Regions from separate parts of the Homo sapiens genome. Here all the other regions are linked to region 5. Evidence: promoter capture Hi-C in 16 types of primary human blood cells and fetal thymus (Javierre and others, 2016). All regions are on one chromosome and are shown on one strand. Each heading gives the region's core, a stretch centred on a gene start or on the middle of the fragment in contact. The rest is flanking DNA. Distances are from core to core; before and after follow the strand shown. Region 1 overlaps LOC107985410 (a long non-coding RNA gene). Region 2 has its middle 36 kb from the start of EDN3. Region 3 has its middle 100 kb from the start of EDN3. Region 4 overlaps STX16 (syntaxin 16). Region 5 holds the start of NELFCD (negative elongation factor complex member C/D).

What was found. The method cuts DNA at HindIII sites, captures the fragments that hold promoters and counts their contacts. A CHiCAGO score of 5 or more calls a contact.
Region 1: a contact is called between a fragment that was not itself captured here and the fragment with the promoter of NELFCD in region 5, in 1 of 17 cell types (neutrophils). The highest score is 7.0, in neutrophils.
Region 2: a fragment that was not itself captured here is called in contact with the fragment with the promoter of NELFCD in region 5 in 1 of 17 cell types (naive CD4 T cells); the score reaches 5.2 in naive CD4 T cells.
Region 3: a contact is called between a fragment that was not itself captured here and the fragment with the promoter of NELFCD in region 5, in 1 of 17 cell types (total CD4 T cells). The highest score is 6.7, in total CD4 T cells.
Region 4: a contact is called between a fragment that was not itself captured here and the fragment with the promoter of NELFCD in region 5, in 1 of 17 cell types (neutrophils). The highest score is 5.9, in neutrophils.

Annotation. Positions count from the first base shown.
Region 1 is chr20:58,645,443-58,648,142 of GRCh38, reverse strand. The region is part of intron 1 of LOC107985410 (a long non-coding RNA gene); the gene reads left to right. Among named protein-coding and RNA genes, the nearest start is that of STX16-NPEPL1, 4.5 kb to the left of the region's middle. RefSeq lists a silencer at 356-650. The HindIII fragment of the contact is 2,566 bases long and covers 121-2,686 here.
Region 2 is chr20:59,262,933-59,265,632 of GRCh38, reverse strand. No RefSeq gene overlaps it. Among named protein-coding and RNA genes, the nearest start is that of EDN3, 36 kb to the left of the region's middle. The HindIII fragment of the contact is 692 bases long and covers 1,079-1,770 here.
Region 3 is chr20:59,402,999-59,405,698 of GRCh38, reverse strand. No RefSeq gene overlaps it. Among named protein-coding and RNA genes, the nearest start is that of EDN3, 100 kb to the right of the region's middle. RefSeq lists an enhancer at 764-1,264. The HindIII fragment of the contact is 361 bases long and covers 1,220-1,580 here.
Region 4 is chr20:58,674,632-58,677,331 of GRCh38, reverse strand. It overlaps STX16 (syntaxin 16), which reads right to left. Exons shown (of 9, transcript NM_001001433.3): 9 at 1-1,145. The coding sequence ends at 1,041. All of the region lies in intron 8 of STX16-NPEPL1 (STX16-NPEPL1 readthrough (NMD candidate)), which reads right to left. Among named protein-coding and RNA genes, the nearest start is that of NPEPL1, 17 kb to the left of the region's middle. RefSeq lists enhancers at 455-979, 980-1,505. The HindIII fragment of the contact is 2,189 bases long and covers 237-2,425 here.
Region 5 is chr20:58,979,927-58,982,626 of GRCh38, reverse strand. NELFCD (negative elongation factor complex member C/D) reads right to left here and starts at 1,371. Exons shown (of 15, transcript NM_198976.4): 1 at 1,258-1,371. The coding sequence starts at 1,317. RefSeq lists an enhancer at 613-1,113 and a silencer at 1,036-1,515. The HindIII fragment of the contact is 8,660 bases long and covers 1-2,700 here.

The DNA of each region.
Region 1 (2,700 bases), core at 154-2,653, 330 kb after region 5:
TATTTTCCTGTCAAGTGACTTAAGCTTGATTTTTTTTTTTTTTTAAAGCATTCCCCCATGGCCAAGTATGTGTTTCCTTGGAATTGAAATCTAGGTTGATGGTTTTACATTTTAAAAGCTTTCATTGTGACTCATTCTTGGCCTGGGCTAGGATTCGGTAATACTCCTCGGGCTTGGTGAGGCTCCGTGTCCTGTTTCTTGGGCTTCATACCCACTTTCTAACATTCTGCCAACGAATCCAATAAGTCACTTTTGGGGACAAGTGTTTCATTGTTTTCTTGTCATCTCATTCAGTGCAGGAGGAAGCCCCATTGAAGCCAGGCCATGGCTTGGGCAGGTGCAGGTTTTCAAGTACTGAGAGGGGATGGTTAGCTCAACAGGTCAGCAGTGGGACACACACCCTTTGGTGAAAACAATTTAAATGAGATAGGGCTCATGTAAGCCCTTATACAACCTCAGCATAGAGTAAGTGCGCCACAAATGGGCAATATGATTTATTACAGCAGTAGTCTTACTGTTGGAAAGCTCACGTGGGCTCTGCTCTCCCTGGAAGGCATCATAAACTCCAAAGAGAATGGCATGGTATTGAGAACTGAACACTTGGAAATCTAAGCACGTTTCCGAGCTTCTTGTTCTGGACCTTGGGAATCCAGATGTGTCTGCAGTGCACACTCATGTGGAAGAGGGGGCTAAACCATCTCAAAGACACCTTTTAACATTGGTCTTTCTCCCACCTATAGAAAGACAGATGGTTGTTTGCTTATCAAGCAGCAAAAGCCCCCAGGCCTAACATATGTCTCGTCTGCACAGATCTGACAGACAGATTCGGGCCAGGTTCGGGTAACAGGAGTTGTGTGTTCTGTGTCCCCAAATAGTTCCTCAAAACCTTGAGTATTTCCAACAACAGAAAACTCCCTATCTGGGTCTGTCTTCAGCTATGATGCCTCTCCCAAGAAGGGAGACTCTGGAGAGAGGCAACACTTTTGTTTTGTCTGGAGTCCCGTAGCTTTTAATACCAGACAATTCAATACAGTAGGCATTTCTAAAAATCTACCAGTGGCTGTGCCTATCTCTTGCCAGGCACTGCTGAAAGAATGAAACAGCAAAACTCTTGCCTTCAGGGAATTTGCATCTCCACTGTCTCTACCCAAATTCTGGTTCTCATCGTGTACATTTTCCCAGCAGCCTGCTAACAACCACCCGTCTCTTCCCTCCTCATCCTGCAGCCACAGTGACCTTTCCAAAGCATAAATCTGATCATGTCACTGCCTGATTGAGGCCCTGAAACAGCTCCCTCTGGCCCATGCCAGCCGATCTCAAATGACGCTCAGCAGAAAACAGGTGCTCTAAGTTGAACCAAGCTGGGCATCACTAATATTAACTAATGATGGACTTTTCTTGGTTGTCAGAAAAAAAAAAATGAAGCTAATTAATGGAGTAGTCTCCATCTTAAGTGTTTCTCTTCTCGCTTTCTCTTAAACCTTCAGTCCCTGCCACCACTTGGCTGTATTAGAATATAGTATAAGACTAGATCTGATTTATTCCAGAATCATGGATTTCAGTACAATTTTTTTCCCATAGATCAGTATTTCCTGGAGTTCTGCATTTAGGTTTTCTACACTTTCCACATGGCGGAGTGCCCCCTGGGCATTCAAAGCCCTGCCCAACAGGCCCCACCTAAATGGTGAGCTTTTTTCTTTCCAGGACTTGGCTCACAGGCCTTTCTCTGCCTGGTGGGGGTAGTGGCGGGGGATGTGTCTTGCCCCTTCTGCTTGGTGAACCCTTCATTGAAGACAGCACCCCCTACACTGTCAGGTGTGATAAATGTTTGCGGAATGGATGACTGGATGGATTAATGCACAAAAGGTGAGATTAACTATATTAAGTGCTAGAGAATACCAGACAGTCAAGACTCAAAATGGGTGGAGAGATTAGGGCAGTTCTCTGTCCCCCTCGCTCACCCCTTTTCAGCCACACTAGCCTTCCCACCATTCCTCACACCTCCTTAGCACCTGCTTTGCTCTCCTTCCTAGGTTCTTCAAATAACTGGCTCCTTCTCACCACTCTTGTCTCAGACTATTCAATAGAAAGTAATCCTCCTACCCTGTCCACCGTGTGGGGAGAGGACTCTCCTCTCCCAGGGCCCTTATGTCACCATCATACCAGGTGCCTGCCCATGCTTGGTCAAGTTCAAGACTGAAACAATGTCTAACATCGTGGCTTTTGGTCTTTGAGGCCAAGAAGAGGCCTCTTGGGTCACAACACATGCCAGCAAAGCATATCTGCATTTTACTTTTTTTCCAGGATGATGTGGACACATGTGTACTCAAATAAATCAACCCTCCCATCTTAACCATCTCCCTTGGCAGGAACAATAAGTTAATGTGCCAAGCCAGGACTGACCTGGATGACTCAAACCCTGAAAAACATAAAGGAAATCATTGTGTTTTTCCGCTAGCAGGTATTGAAACATAGCCAACTCACTCGTTTCTAGTTTTTTTTCCCATGGCCATGACCACTGACCTGCTCGTGGTAATTTGTGTGATGTGCAAGTGCAGGGCTGGACTCCAGCCTTCTCCAGATGCTGCCTGTGCAACCAGCAGCCCCTTATTAGCTATGTGGCCATGCATGGCTCAAGACTCCTTTGGTCACAAGGGACAGAACCCAAATCAAATGGACTTAAGCTTCAAAGCAAATGTG
Region 2 (2,700 bases), core at 175-2,674, 280 kb before region 5:
GGAAGGGAGGGAGGAAGGAAGGAAGGAAGGAAGAAAGGAGAAGGGAAGGAAGGAAAGAAGGAGAGAAGGAATGAAGGGAGGAAGGAAGGAAGAAAGGAAGAGTGGAGGAAAGAAAGGAAGAAAATAAGGAAGAAAAGGAGGGAGGGAGAATGGAAGGAAGGAAAGAAGGAGGGAAGGAATGAAGGGAGGAAGGAAGAAAGGAAGAATGGAGGAAAGAAAGTAAGAAAAGAAGCAAGGAAAAGAGGGAGGGAGGGAGGAAGAAAGGAAGGAGGAAAGGAAGGAAGGAAGGAAGGAAGGAAGGAAAGAAGGAAAGAAGGAAGGAAGGAGGGAAGGAAGGCAGGTCAGTTCTCAATGGAGCCTCACAGTAGTGAATGCTATGATATGCCACCCAGAGCCCCTTTAGTGAAAGATTGTCAGCAAGCAGCCTTCAGCAATCTGTCCCTTCAGAGATTGCTTCAGTTGCAAAGAGCTGCCTCCCTCAAGGTCACAACTTTCTCAGGTAGCCCCAGGCAGCCCACATCCAGTGACTGATGAATGCAGGAGTCTAAAGTCCTGGTCTAGCCAACTTTAAAGGCCCATTCTAGCTGCAGAGCATCCCATGGGTTGGCCAAGGCTGCTGTTGCCTGTATCCATTTCCTCCTCCTCTACACAGATGTGGTTGTCCATGGTAACTCCCTAATAAACCCCTGGCACACCGAGCTCCATTTCAGAGCCTACTTCCCAGAGAACTCAACCTGAAATATTCATAATCTCTAGTAATCTAAGGCCCTCTCCTTGCAAATGGGTGGCCCCCAAACCTTAGGATAAACCAGTCGCAGAGAACTCAGGCTCCCAGGGGGAATAACACCAAGTGATATTCCCAGCTGCACTTCTAAGTTGAGCCAAAACAGTTTTTGCAAAAACCTCAGAAAAAAATGGCCTTTCTAGAGCCACTGTTGGAATCAGTAATGAGACATCTAGAAGTTTCTTTCACATGATTGAAAGAAATTTTAAGAGTAGAAAAAGTCACAGAAAGTGTAGCCTGGTGCCTGGCAATACACTAAATATCCAATAAATGTTTGTTGCAACAATGAAAGCTTCTTTTTTCTTATTCTCTGTTTCTCCCCTAAGAATTTAAAACTAGAAGATTATAAGACTAACACATTCAGCCCCATGCAGTTATTTTCTCCGAATCACTTGTTTTTAGCACAAAAGGGATAACTACTTGTGATGTATTTTTCCATTATTTTCTTTGTGCAGGAGGTTTTTAAATTAATTTAGTCTCTTTCTGCATCAGGTTGTCTTGTAATTGAAGATGTGAAGTGTTTGTCTTCCAAAGGCTTTCTGGTGATGTCTTTTTTGCTGTTAACATCTTCTTTGTCTATGCCTGTGATCCCTGCCAAATTGCCCACGGAACAGCAACTCAAGTGCATAAATTATGAGACCACATAAGCACCGGGCACATCTATTTGAGTCTAAATGTCTTAGGAGAGAAGTTTTCTTTTTGCAAAACAAACACAATCAAACCTTGATTAACTAGAACATTTGGGGGATGAGCAGTCTAGATAATTTGATTTTCTGGGTAATTTTCAGTTAACCAAAAAGTCATCAAAATTTTCAAACCCTGATGCAGAAAATCTTGACAAAAATGTCCTTCTTTCCACTTCTAGGAAAGACAGTAGAGCATAATGGAAAATTTTGGAAGCAGAAGGTGGTGGTGTCATGGCAAAAATGTTGGAGTTTAGGGGTGAAGTCCTGGTGTCAGTCACCACTTTGCCTCTCACTCAAGCTTGGGCAAAACCCTCTGGTCCTTGATTTCCCCTAAAAGGAAGAAGGAGCAAACCGATACTCTCGATTTTCTCAACTTGATGCCCAGCATTGGTGTTCATTCTTTTTCATTCCAGTTGGCTATAGAAGTTTGTAGAGCGTTTGGGTTGCATCTACTTTCACAGCAAAATCCTATCCTTCCCTATGTAAATATTTCCTTAGTGTCTACTCAGTGTTCAAGTGTGCTTGGGGATGGTAAAGCAATAAACAGCATCTATTCCCATAGACGTGTCATCCTTTCTCCTGGCTCTTTCTCCTCGAGGTGGAATGGAGCAGGGCAGGGGGATGATTTTGGGGTTTAAATTTTCATCAGTTAATGTCCTGCTGTGTGTAGGCTCTAGAAACATGTCCTAATGCAGCTGTGAAGAAATACCGGACTGTGGGCCCTGGACTCTGCCTCTGGTCCTGCCAGGGTACGTCTTTCTCTCCACTCCAGTCTCATCGTCAGCATGAGGGCTGAGCTGTTTCTGGGGCCAGCACTACACTGTCACCCTAACTCCTGAGACCAGAGCTTCTCAACCTCAGCACCTCTGGCACTATAGACTGGATACATCTTTGTTATGGGAACTGCCTTGTGTTACGCACTGCAGGACGTTGAGCAGAATCCCTGCCCTCTGCATACAGATGCCTGGGAAATAAAATTGCCCCCTCTGAGAACCACTGCCTTAAAGCATGATATCTTAATCTTTCTTGAGAAAAAGAATTTGGGAATGACAACATCAGTCATCAAATATTTGATGTTTCCTCCCAAGGAAGTTAGGTCTGAAATAGTGTCGACCTGGGTTTCTTTGCTATGTGGGATCAAAGATGCCTTCATTTCCTTTGTGCTGAGGTGCCTGGAAATTACCTTTTAGCAAAAGTAGTCCCAAGTTACGATGCTCAGGTAGAGAAGAC
Region 3 (2,700 bases), core at 151-2,650, 420 kb before region 5:
GGAGAGGGGCTCTGAAGCAAGAAGTCTTTGAGAGCTGACACCACTAAGTAGAGAAAATGGACAGAAGCTGACTCGGCAAACCTTCGCCACCTGGTCAACTGTACATGGATAGATCAAATTATGCATTCACTCACTTGACAAATATTTATTAAGTACTCCAATCCCTTACCTTCTCTTTGCATCCAGCACAAGCCAGCTCTGGCCGCTTCCCTGACCACTGCGCACCTGCCCCAGGGCCCTTCCTGCCATTCCTCAAACGGGCAGAGCTCATTCTCCCCTGACCCCGGGCCTCAACCTGCTATTCACTCTGCCTAGAATACCCTTCCTGCTGTTCTGCACTCAGCCAGCTCCTTCTTCTTATCCCCGCCCCCCGCCCCTTGTGTAAAGGAGCCCTCTCCAATTACTGTCTATCCTATTTTGCTTCATTCACAGCCTTTGTCTTCTGAAATTGTCTTGTTTACTTATTAATACATGGTTTTTGTCCTCTCTCCACCAGAATGTCAGTTCCCTGAGAGAAGAGGGACCTATCTTGTTCAGGCTGTGTCCCTAGCGGCCAGCACGGCTCCCGAAATATAACAGGTCCTCAATAAACATCTGTTGAAGAAACGATGTTCTCTTTAGCCTATCTCAGCCGGCGGGTTGAGAGGGAGAAGTAAGTAGGACACCGGGAAGGGCTTTAAAGCAGCACAAATACTCCCTGTGAGACCGGACTGGGATAAAGACAGGTTTTGAGCACTGACCTCACCGGGATGGTGGATGGGCAGGTGAGGACGACGGTGGCTTTGCCTCATCTCCCAGCTGTGACTGAGAGGCCCCCGTGGACCTGGCCCAGTGTGGCTCCATTAGTGGCCTCCCCAGGATCTGGCTAAGGTGGTATATTTTATGGTCCTGTCTATACTGCTGAGCTAATCCTTGTTAACAGGAGACAAGAGGGCATCAGAAAGATTGCCCCGGCCCAGAACTTCTTAGCTGGGATACAGTGAACACAAATCATTTGAATTCCCCACCCAGCAACAGCAGACATTCCCGGCATCCTCCTGAGCCTCTCCACTTGAACGTCTGCAGAGGTATTTATCCCATAACCATCCTGGGGTGGTCGATGCCAGGGAGATCCAGCTCCCCCTCGGCTGGGAGCTGTGCCTGCTTAGTCATAATGATCCCTCCACCGTTTGGACTGCTGCCTCCTGAGAGCCTGTCGGGTACAAAAGCTCTCAAAGCTTCATACTTCATGTGATCTTCCCAGAAGCTCTACCGGGGGGTGTTCTTTTAGACCAGTTCCAGATGGGGAAACTGAGGCACAGAAAGGCAACGTGAGTTGTTCAAGTTCCCCAGACAGTGAGTGGATGGGCAGAGAGTTGAGCCCACGTCTGTGTGCTCAGCCTGTCTCTGCTGCCTCTGGTGAACGAGGCGGGGCTGGACAGATGTGCGGGACCCAGGAGTACAGGAGAGCCCCCTAAGTCTGCACATTCTAGGACAGGAGATTGGAGACAAGTCCCTTTTCTTGGGGTCCTAAGTGGGGTTCACTGTGTCCCTGAAATCAAGGTCTCTTGGGCCCCTAAAAGGAAAGTTTTCTGGAAGCTTCTGGAAAAGTCCCTTGGAATCTGAACATCTACGAGAAGAGGAGAAAGGAAGGGAACATTGTATACAAAGACACCACAGCTGCCCAGTGGGTCAGGGGCGTGCGTCTCTGAGGGTCGGCTTAGACCTGGCAGCTCCGAGCCAAGCAGGGATTCGGGATCCGCACAGCCGGCGGGGGGCCCGGGGGGTGCGACCGCTGTGCTGCCGGCAGTTCCGCCCGCGGCCTCGTGGTGGCGCTGTTGTGCAGCGAGTGAGCGCGGCGCGTGGGGGAGGCTTCGGCAGCGCCGGGGCCCAGAGATCTGCAGACTTCGCTGCGCCAGAGTGGGGGTGCAGCGTGGGGAACAGCCCGCTGGCCCCTTCTTCCTCGGGCCCCGTGCCCCCCACTCAGGTTCCTGGGGCAAAGTCATGGTTGTTGTCATCGCCCCTGATTGAGCCTAGATGAGACGTGGTCCCAGAGACAAGGGATTCAGGGGACTGGAGGAGGGACCCCCGCTGGGGTGGCTCGTTGGGGACCAACTTGCCTGGCACCGAGATACCCTGCCCCGCTCCAGGCCTGGGAGCATCCTAGGAGACTGTGGCCCGGTGTCCTCGGGGGCCTGGCACGGGCTGGGTTCAGTGAAGTGGAGGGTCCCCTCTTTCTGGGCAGGGGCGTCTGGCCGCGAGGGCGTCACGGGGTACATTGAACTCCTGCTGCGACACCTGTGTATCCAGGCCCGGGAGAAGACAGAGCGCCTCCCTGCAAGGGGAGACCGGTTCCCACCTGGACTAGGTGCGGGGACAGGGGGAAGGTCCCTGAGAGGACCCTGGGGACGGAGCAGTGGGAGAAACTTCCTTCTTTCCTAGTGAAAGGCACTGCCTGCCCAGGGTGCAGAGTAAATGGACAGTGACATTGGGCCCAGACAGTGACACAAACACCCTTTTCAGACATGGAAAGGGGGTGCGTGTGACAAAGACAGAGAGCTCTCCTAGCTAAAGAGAGAATAACACAGGCACTCTCTTCTCGTGATAAGAAAATGGGTGACAGTGACCCATGCCCCTTTTTCTAAAGAGCAGGAGGGAGAGCGCCGGGTTTTCAGATTTGCAGGGCGAGTGCGTGCAGGTCCCCAGCCCCTGTAAGGGGTT
Region 4 (2,700 bases), core at 82-2,581, 310 kb after region 5:
AATATTTTACTTTGAAATGGAGTGATGTTTGGTTAATAATTTGAGATCCACTAATCCTAAATGGGGTGACCCATTTAAAATGGCCTCTGTGTAAATTCACAGTTCATTAAATAGAGTCTGGTTTGAACAGGTCATTATGTAGTTAGTATATAAGTAATGGATTGAGCAAGGATGGCTGGGGATACCCATGGGGACACACTGGCTGAGTCTGGTGGCTTTCATAACACTGTCAAGCTTTCTTTTAATGTGAGATTCATTTAAATCACCAACTTAAATTTAGGTGGTTTTGCTTAGTAACCTCTTTTGGTTTACAGTAGAAAATGCAGTGCAAAAATTTTAAATGAGGAATATTCCATTTACAATTAATTTAAAACTTATGAAGCTGTTTTAACTGGCCCATCTAAATGTGTTAATTAACATCAATGATGGTTTCTTATTTTTCACACTTTGTTACTCTGATCATTAACAGTGATGGAAAAGCTAAATTAAGTTAATGGGGAACGGATTATAAATTCTTAAAGGACTTCTTAGTTTGTTTTCAACTGGAAAATATATAGAGAAAGATGAAGGGGCATTTTTGCCTCTACTCATCAATTTTTGGTACCAAATTTCTTAAAAACCAGATGGTTTAAAGAAAATTTTTCCAAAAATTATGTTAACATTCTGCTCAGACATGGCTGCTAAAAAAATAGCATATACACATATAATACTGAACAGCTTCTGCAGTGCCTGTAAACTCTCAGCTCATTTTCTCTTTCTAAAAAAAATATATATTATAACTGATCCCAGAACTCAATCTCTATTGTGCAGCAGTATCAAAGGTCCTTAAATTCTCAACAATGAAGGAAAAACAAAAACCCATTCCCCGGACCGCTTGAGCAGGACTAGGGAAGGAGGAGTCCGTGGATGCAAAGGTTCGCTGCCCCGACGCCCTCAGATTCCTCGAGGCTGCACCTCTGCGGGCAGCTGGCGGGGCGCAGGCCAAGCCCCTCACACCCGGGAGATCCACACGCGCGGCACACACGAAAACCCAATGCCACTTATCGAGACTTCACGCCAACGAGGACAACAATGAGCACAATGATGATGACAAATAATATTAAAATCACAAGCATCTTCCGATTCTTCTTTTGATACTGTTCTGCCTACAAAAAGAGGAGGGAAAAAAGGCCGTCATTTTCCCCAAAATCCCAAATCAAGTCCCACTCGTTTCCAGAATGAGGCTTCCAGATCTCTCTGCACAGTGACTGAGGTCTCTGCTACAGGCTACATGATTGTAATCCCTCCAATCAATCCCACGGAATTCAATCACCAGGAGTGGAAGAGCCCCATGATCCTGGTGCTGCTTATTTACCCTGGACGTGGAAATGGATTTGTTGGAAACCTACTACTAAGACAAAGCCTGACAGGGAAGTGAAAGCTCATGCTTCCGGGTGCAGCTGGGCCTGCTTCTCCCGGCTTTTCCTCCTGCAGGCCGTGGCAAGTGCCCCTGCAGCACGGGTCGCCTGTTCCCGGTCCGTGTTCCTGGAGCGAATGCACAGTTCCTTCACCGCGGAAGGAAACAACGGGCTGGAGGACCGTACCTGGCAGGTAGGCAACAGACACCCGGAAGAGGCCCCATTTCGACCTCCCCTAAATTTGGAAACAAAAACTCATCCTTTGAAATAAAAACAGACACGTGTGCCCCATGGATGTCATATGCAGAAAGATCCCTCTGAGGCGCGTCCTCCCAGTGCCGCTAACGATACAGCAAAGGAGCCCTCCAAGCTCAATCTGGGGACGAGGCTGCACCCTGCACATCTCTTCACCTTAACACCGCATCCTGGAAGCTCGGCAGGAGCGGGAACTCCATCATGCCTGCTAGAGAAATGCCAAAGGGCCCCACCTGGCTGGCGAAAGACGCAGAGCACTGAGAAAGGAGAGCCAGAGGACAGCAGAGTTCAGAGGGCGCCGGGAGGCACGTCCAGGGAGAGCATGCGCTGCCTCTTCCAGACCTTGCTATGGCACAGGAGGGAGGAGGAGACAGCGGGAAGGCAGCCCTGGCGAGAATGGCAATCTCTCCTGCTCCATCCCCCGCGGTGGGCTTGTTTCCTAAGTGAGCCTGCCCGCCCACCTGGAGGAGCCCCTCATCCACCAGGAGGAAACATCAGGCACGGGGACAGCACCGAGAGTCCGGTCATGGGGAGCAGCTCCCGACGCTCAATCACCCTTAGACTAGCCGACTGCCGAGCACGCGCGTGCTGCCTACAGCCTTGTGGCTGGAGGGAAGATGGAGCACGCTGACTTTTCTAATAAGTAACCCAGAACACCAGGGAAGCCAATACTAAATAATATACTGTAAAACCTCTCAAAATGATTTATAAAGTAGAACCTAAAACAAAATTTTTAGTTCCCACTAGATTTGCTCACTCCCGCAGAGAAAGCTTTTCCTTTTATCTGTGTTATATTACAAAACATATTTCACTAGTTTTTATTTAAGAAACTTCAAAACCAATGCATAATTCAGCAGCACATCAAAACCTGGGTATTACAGAGTGAGAAACTTAAGTTAGTTTTCACTTTTAATAGACAGGGCTTGGCAACCAAATTAATCTAAATGCTTAAAAAAACCCTGCATAGACAAGGTCAGACTTCTCTTCCCACCACAGGCTGGAGTCTCATATCCACCTACACATGGCAACAAGCCCCCTGAAAAGACAG
Region 5 (2,700 bases), core at 122-2,621:
AACACATCGCCCGCCTTGGCATTTTAGACCATGGCTCCGAAGCCGCCATCACACCACCACCCATGTTTATCAACGTAAGCCCCACTTCATCCTTTATTCCCTTATAATACCACTTCAAAATGCACCAGACATCCCCAATCTTGATTGTTGTTAAAAATGCAAGTTCCTGGGCCACGAGCAGTGGCTCACGCCTGTAATCCCAGTACTTTGGGAGGCAGAGGTGGGTGGATCACCTGAGGTCAAGAGTTTGAGACCAGCCTGGCCAACAAGGTGAAACCCCCTCTCTACTCAAAATTTTAAAAATTAGCTGGGCATGGTGGTGGGTGCCTGTAATCCCAGCTATTCGGGAGGCTGAGGCAGGAGAATCGCTTGAATCCGAGAGGCAGACGTTGCAGTGAGCCGCGATGGCGCCATTACACTCCAGCCTGGGCAACAAGAGCGAAACTCCACCACAAAAAAAAAAAAAAAAAAAAAAAAAAAAAAAAATGCAAGTTCCCAGGCTCCCGTCCAGACCAACTGTTGGGCCGTCTCCAGGGGAGGGACGTGAGAAGCTACATTTCAATCATGCGCCTCAGTTGGGTCTTTAGAGTAAGGTGGGGACACACTGTCCAGACTAGAGCTACCTGCCCTGGCTCTGCAGTCCCTGTCCTCAGGGTGGAACAGTGATCCCTCCTGGGCTTCCACCCCAAACCCTGGAAGGTCAAGGCCCGAAAATCCTTTCCATCAGTTTGCCCAAAAACAGATGAAATCAGCCCAAGGTGCTGAAGAGTACAGTTTATAAAACAGTAAAGCACATGTAGGAATGCCCTAAGTTCTACTTTTTCCTCATGATGCTGCTGTGAAGTTTTTCCACTTTATTTTTGTTTAAAAGTCTGTGAGCTCCGGACCCAACCCTCCACCTTAGCGTTGGTGTCCCGCCCGCCGCGGGGGTCGCAGGGCCGGCGCCGGGCCTGGCCGGAGCGAGGGGGTACTGGGGGCCTCGGGCCGCCCCGCGCCAGAGCCTCCGGCGCCTCACCCCCACCCCAAGGTCCTGCAGGCGAGGAGGCGGGGACCCCGGCGGCCGCGCCGCGGGACCCCGGGCGGGCGGGGGCGGGGCGGGCTGTGCTTGAACCACACGGTGACCGCGCGGGCCGTGCGCGCGCACACCCCCCGCACGCCCGCAGCCTCGCGCCGCGCGGCCTCTCCGGGAGTGGGGCCGGCCCGCCGGCGGCGGAGACGAACGATTCTCTCTAGGGTGCGCCCAGTGCCCCGCCTCACCTGGCCGCCGTCAGCCTCGTCGCCCCACTCGGCCGCGCTCCCGTAGTAGTCCTCGTCCATGATGGCGCCCGGCACGGCCCCCGCCATGCCCTCCCGCGAGCGAGCGCGGCGCATGCGCGAGGCGGGGACGGGCGGGCGGGCGCACGCGCGGCCGCGCGCCTCGGCCCGGGCGGGAGGCGGGGCCTGGAAGAAGGGGCGGGGCCTGGAGGAAGGGCAGGGCCGCGGGCTCGGCACTGGGAACAAAGGGGACCGGCGGAAGGAACGCCCCCAGTCGATCCCGGAGCGATGCCCGGGTGGACCAGGGGCTTAGCTCCGGAGAGAGGTTTCCCACTGGATTCGTGCACAGCCCCTCCCCTGCGGCGCCGGCTCTGCGAGCCCCAGTTTCCTCATCTGGCAGCTGGAAACAAATCCTTCCGGAAGTGTCCAGGACCCACGAAAGTGTTTTAATTTCTTTTAGTTTTGGTAAAAAGTACTAAACGCGACCGGGCGTGGGGGCTCACGCCTGTAATCCCAGCACTTTGGGAGACCGAGGCTGACGGATCACTTGAGGTCAGGAGTTCGAGGCCAGTCTGGCCAACATGGTGAAACCCCGTCTCTGCTCAAAATACAAAAATTAGCCGGGCGTGGTGGCATGCGCCTGTAATCCCAGGTACTCGGGTGACTGAGGCAGGAGAATCGCTTGAACCCGGGAGGCGGAGGTTGCAGTGAGCCAAGATCGCACCATTGCACTCCAGCCTGAGCGACAGAGCGAGACCCTATCTCAAATAAATAAATACATACATAAAAAGGGCAGGGCACGGTGGCTCACGCCTGTAATCCCAACACTTTGGGAGGCCGAGGCGGGCGGATCACCTGAGGTCAGGAGTTCGAGACCAGCCTGGTCAACATGGTAAAACCCCTTCTCTACTAATAACACAAAAATTAGCTGGGCATGGTGGCGGGCGCCTGTAGTCTCAGCTACTCAAGAGGCTGAGTCACGAGAACCGCTTGAACCCAGGAGGTGGAGGTTGCAGTGAGCCAAGATCACACCACCGCACTCCAGCCTAGGCAACAGAGTGAAACTGTGTCAAAAAAAAAAAAAAAAAGAAAAAGAAAAAGAAAGAAAGAAGAAAGAAAGAAAAGAAAAGAAAAAAGAAAAGAGAAGAAAAAGTACTGAATGCAGTGGAAAGTAGCATTTTTAATTTTTTATAAAGTGGAAGATAGGCCCACAAAGCAAAAGTGCCCAGAGCTGACAAAAATCTCTGGAGAAAGGACCTCTCTGGTCGTTGCCAAAGGGAGCAGCTGACGCTGTTGTAAAGCCCGCAGCTCGATTCCCAGCGTGAAGTAGGGGGTGAGAATATGACAGCCTCCTGATGATCACGGAAAGGTTTTTGTTTGGTTGTTGTGTTTTTGTTTTGTTTTAATTTTAGATTCGGTGCGTGTGCAGGTTTGTTACATTGGTAT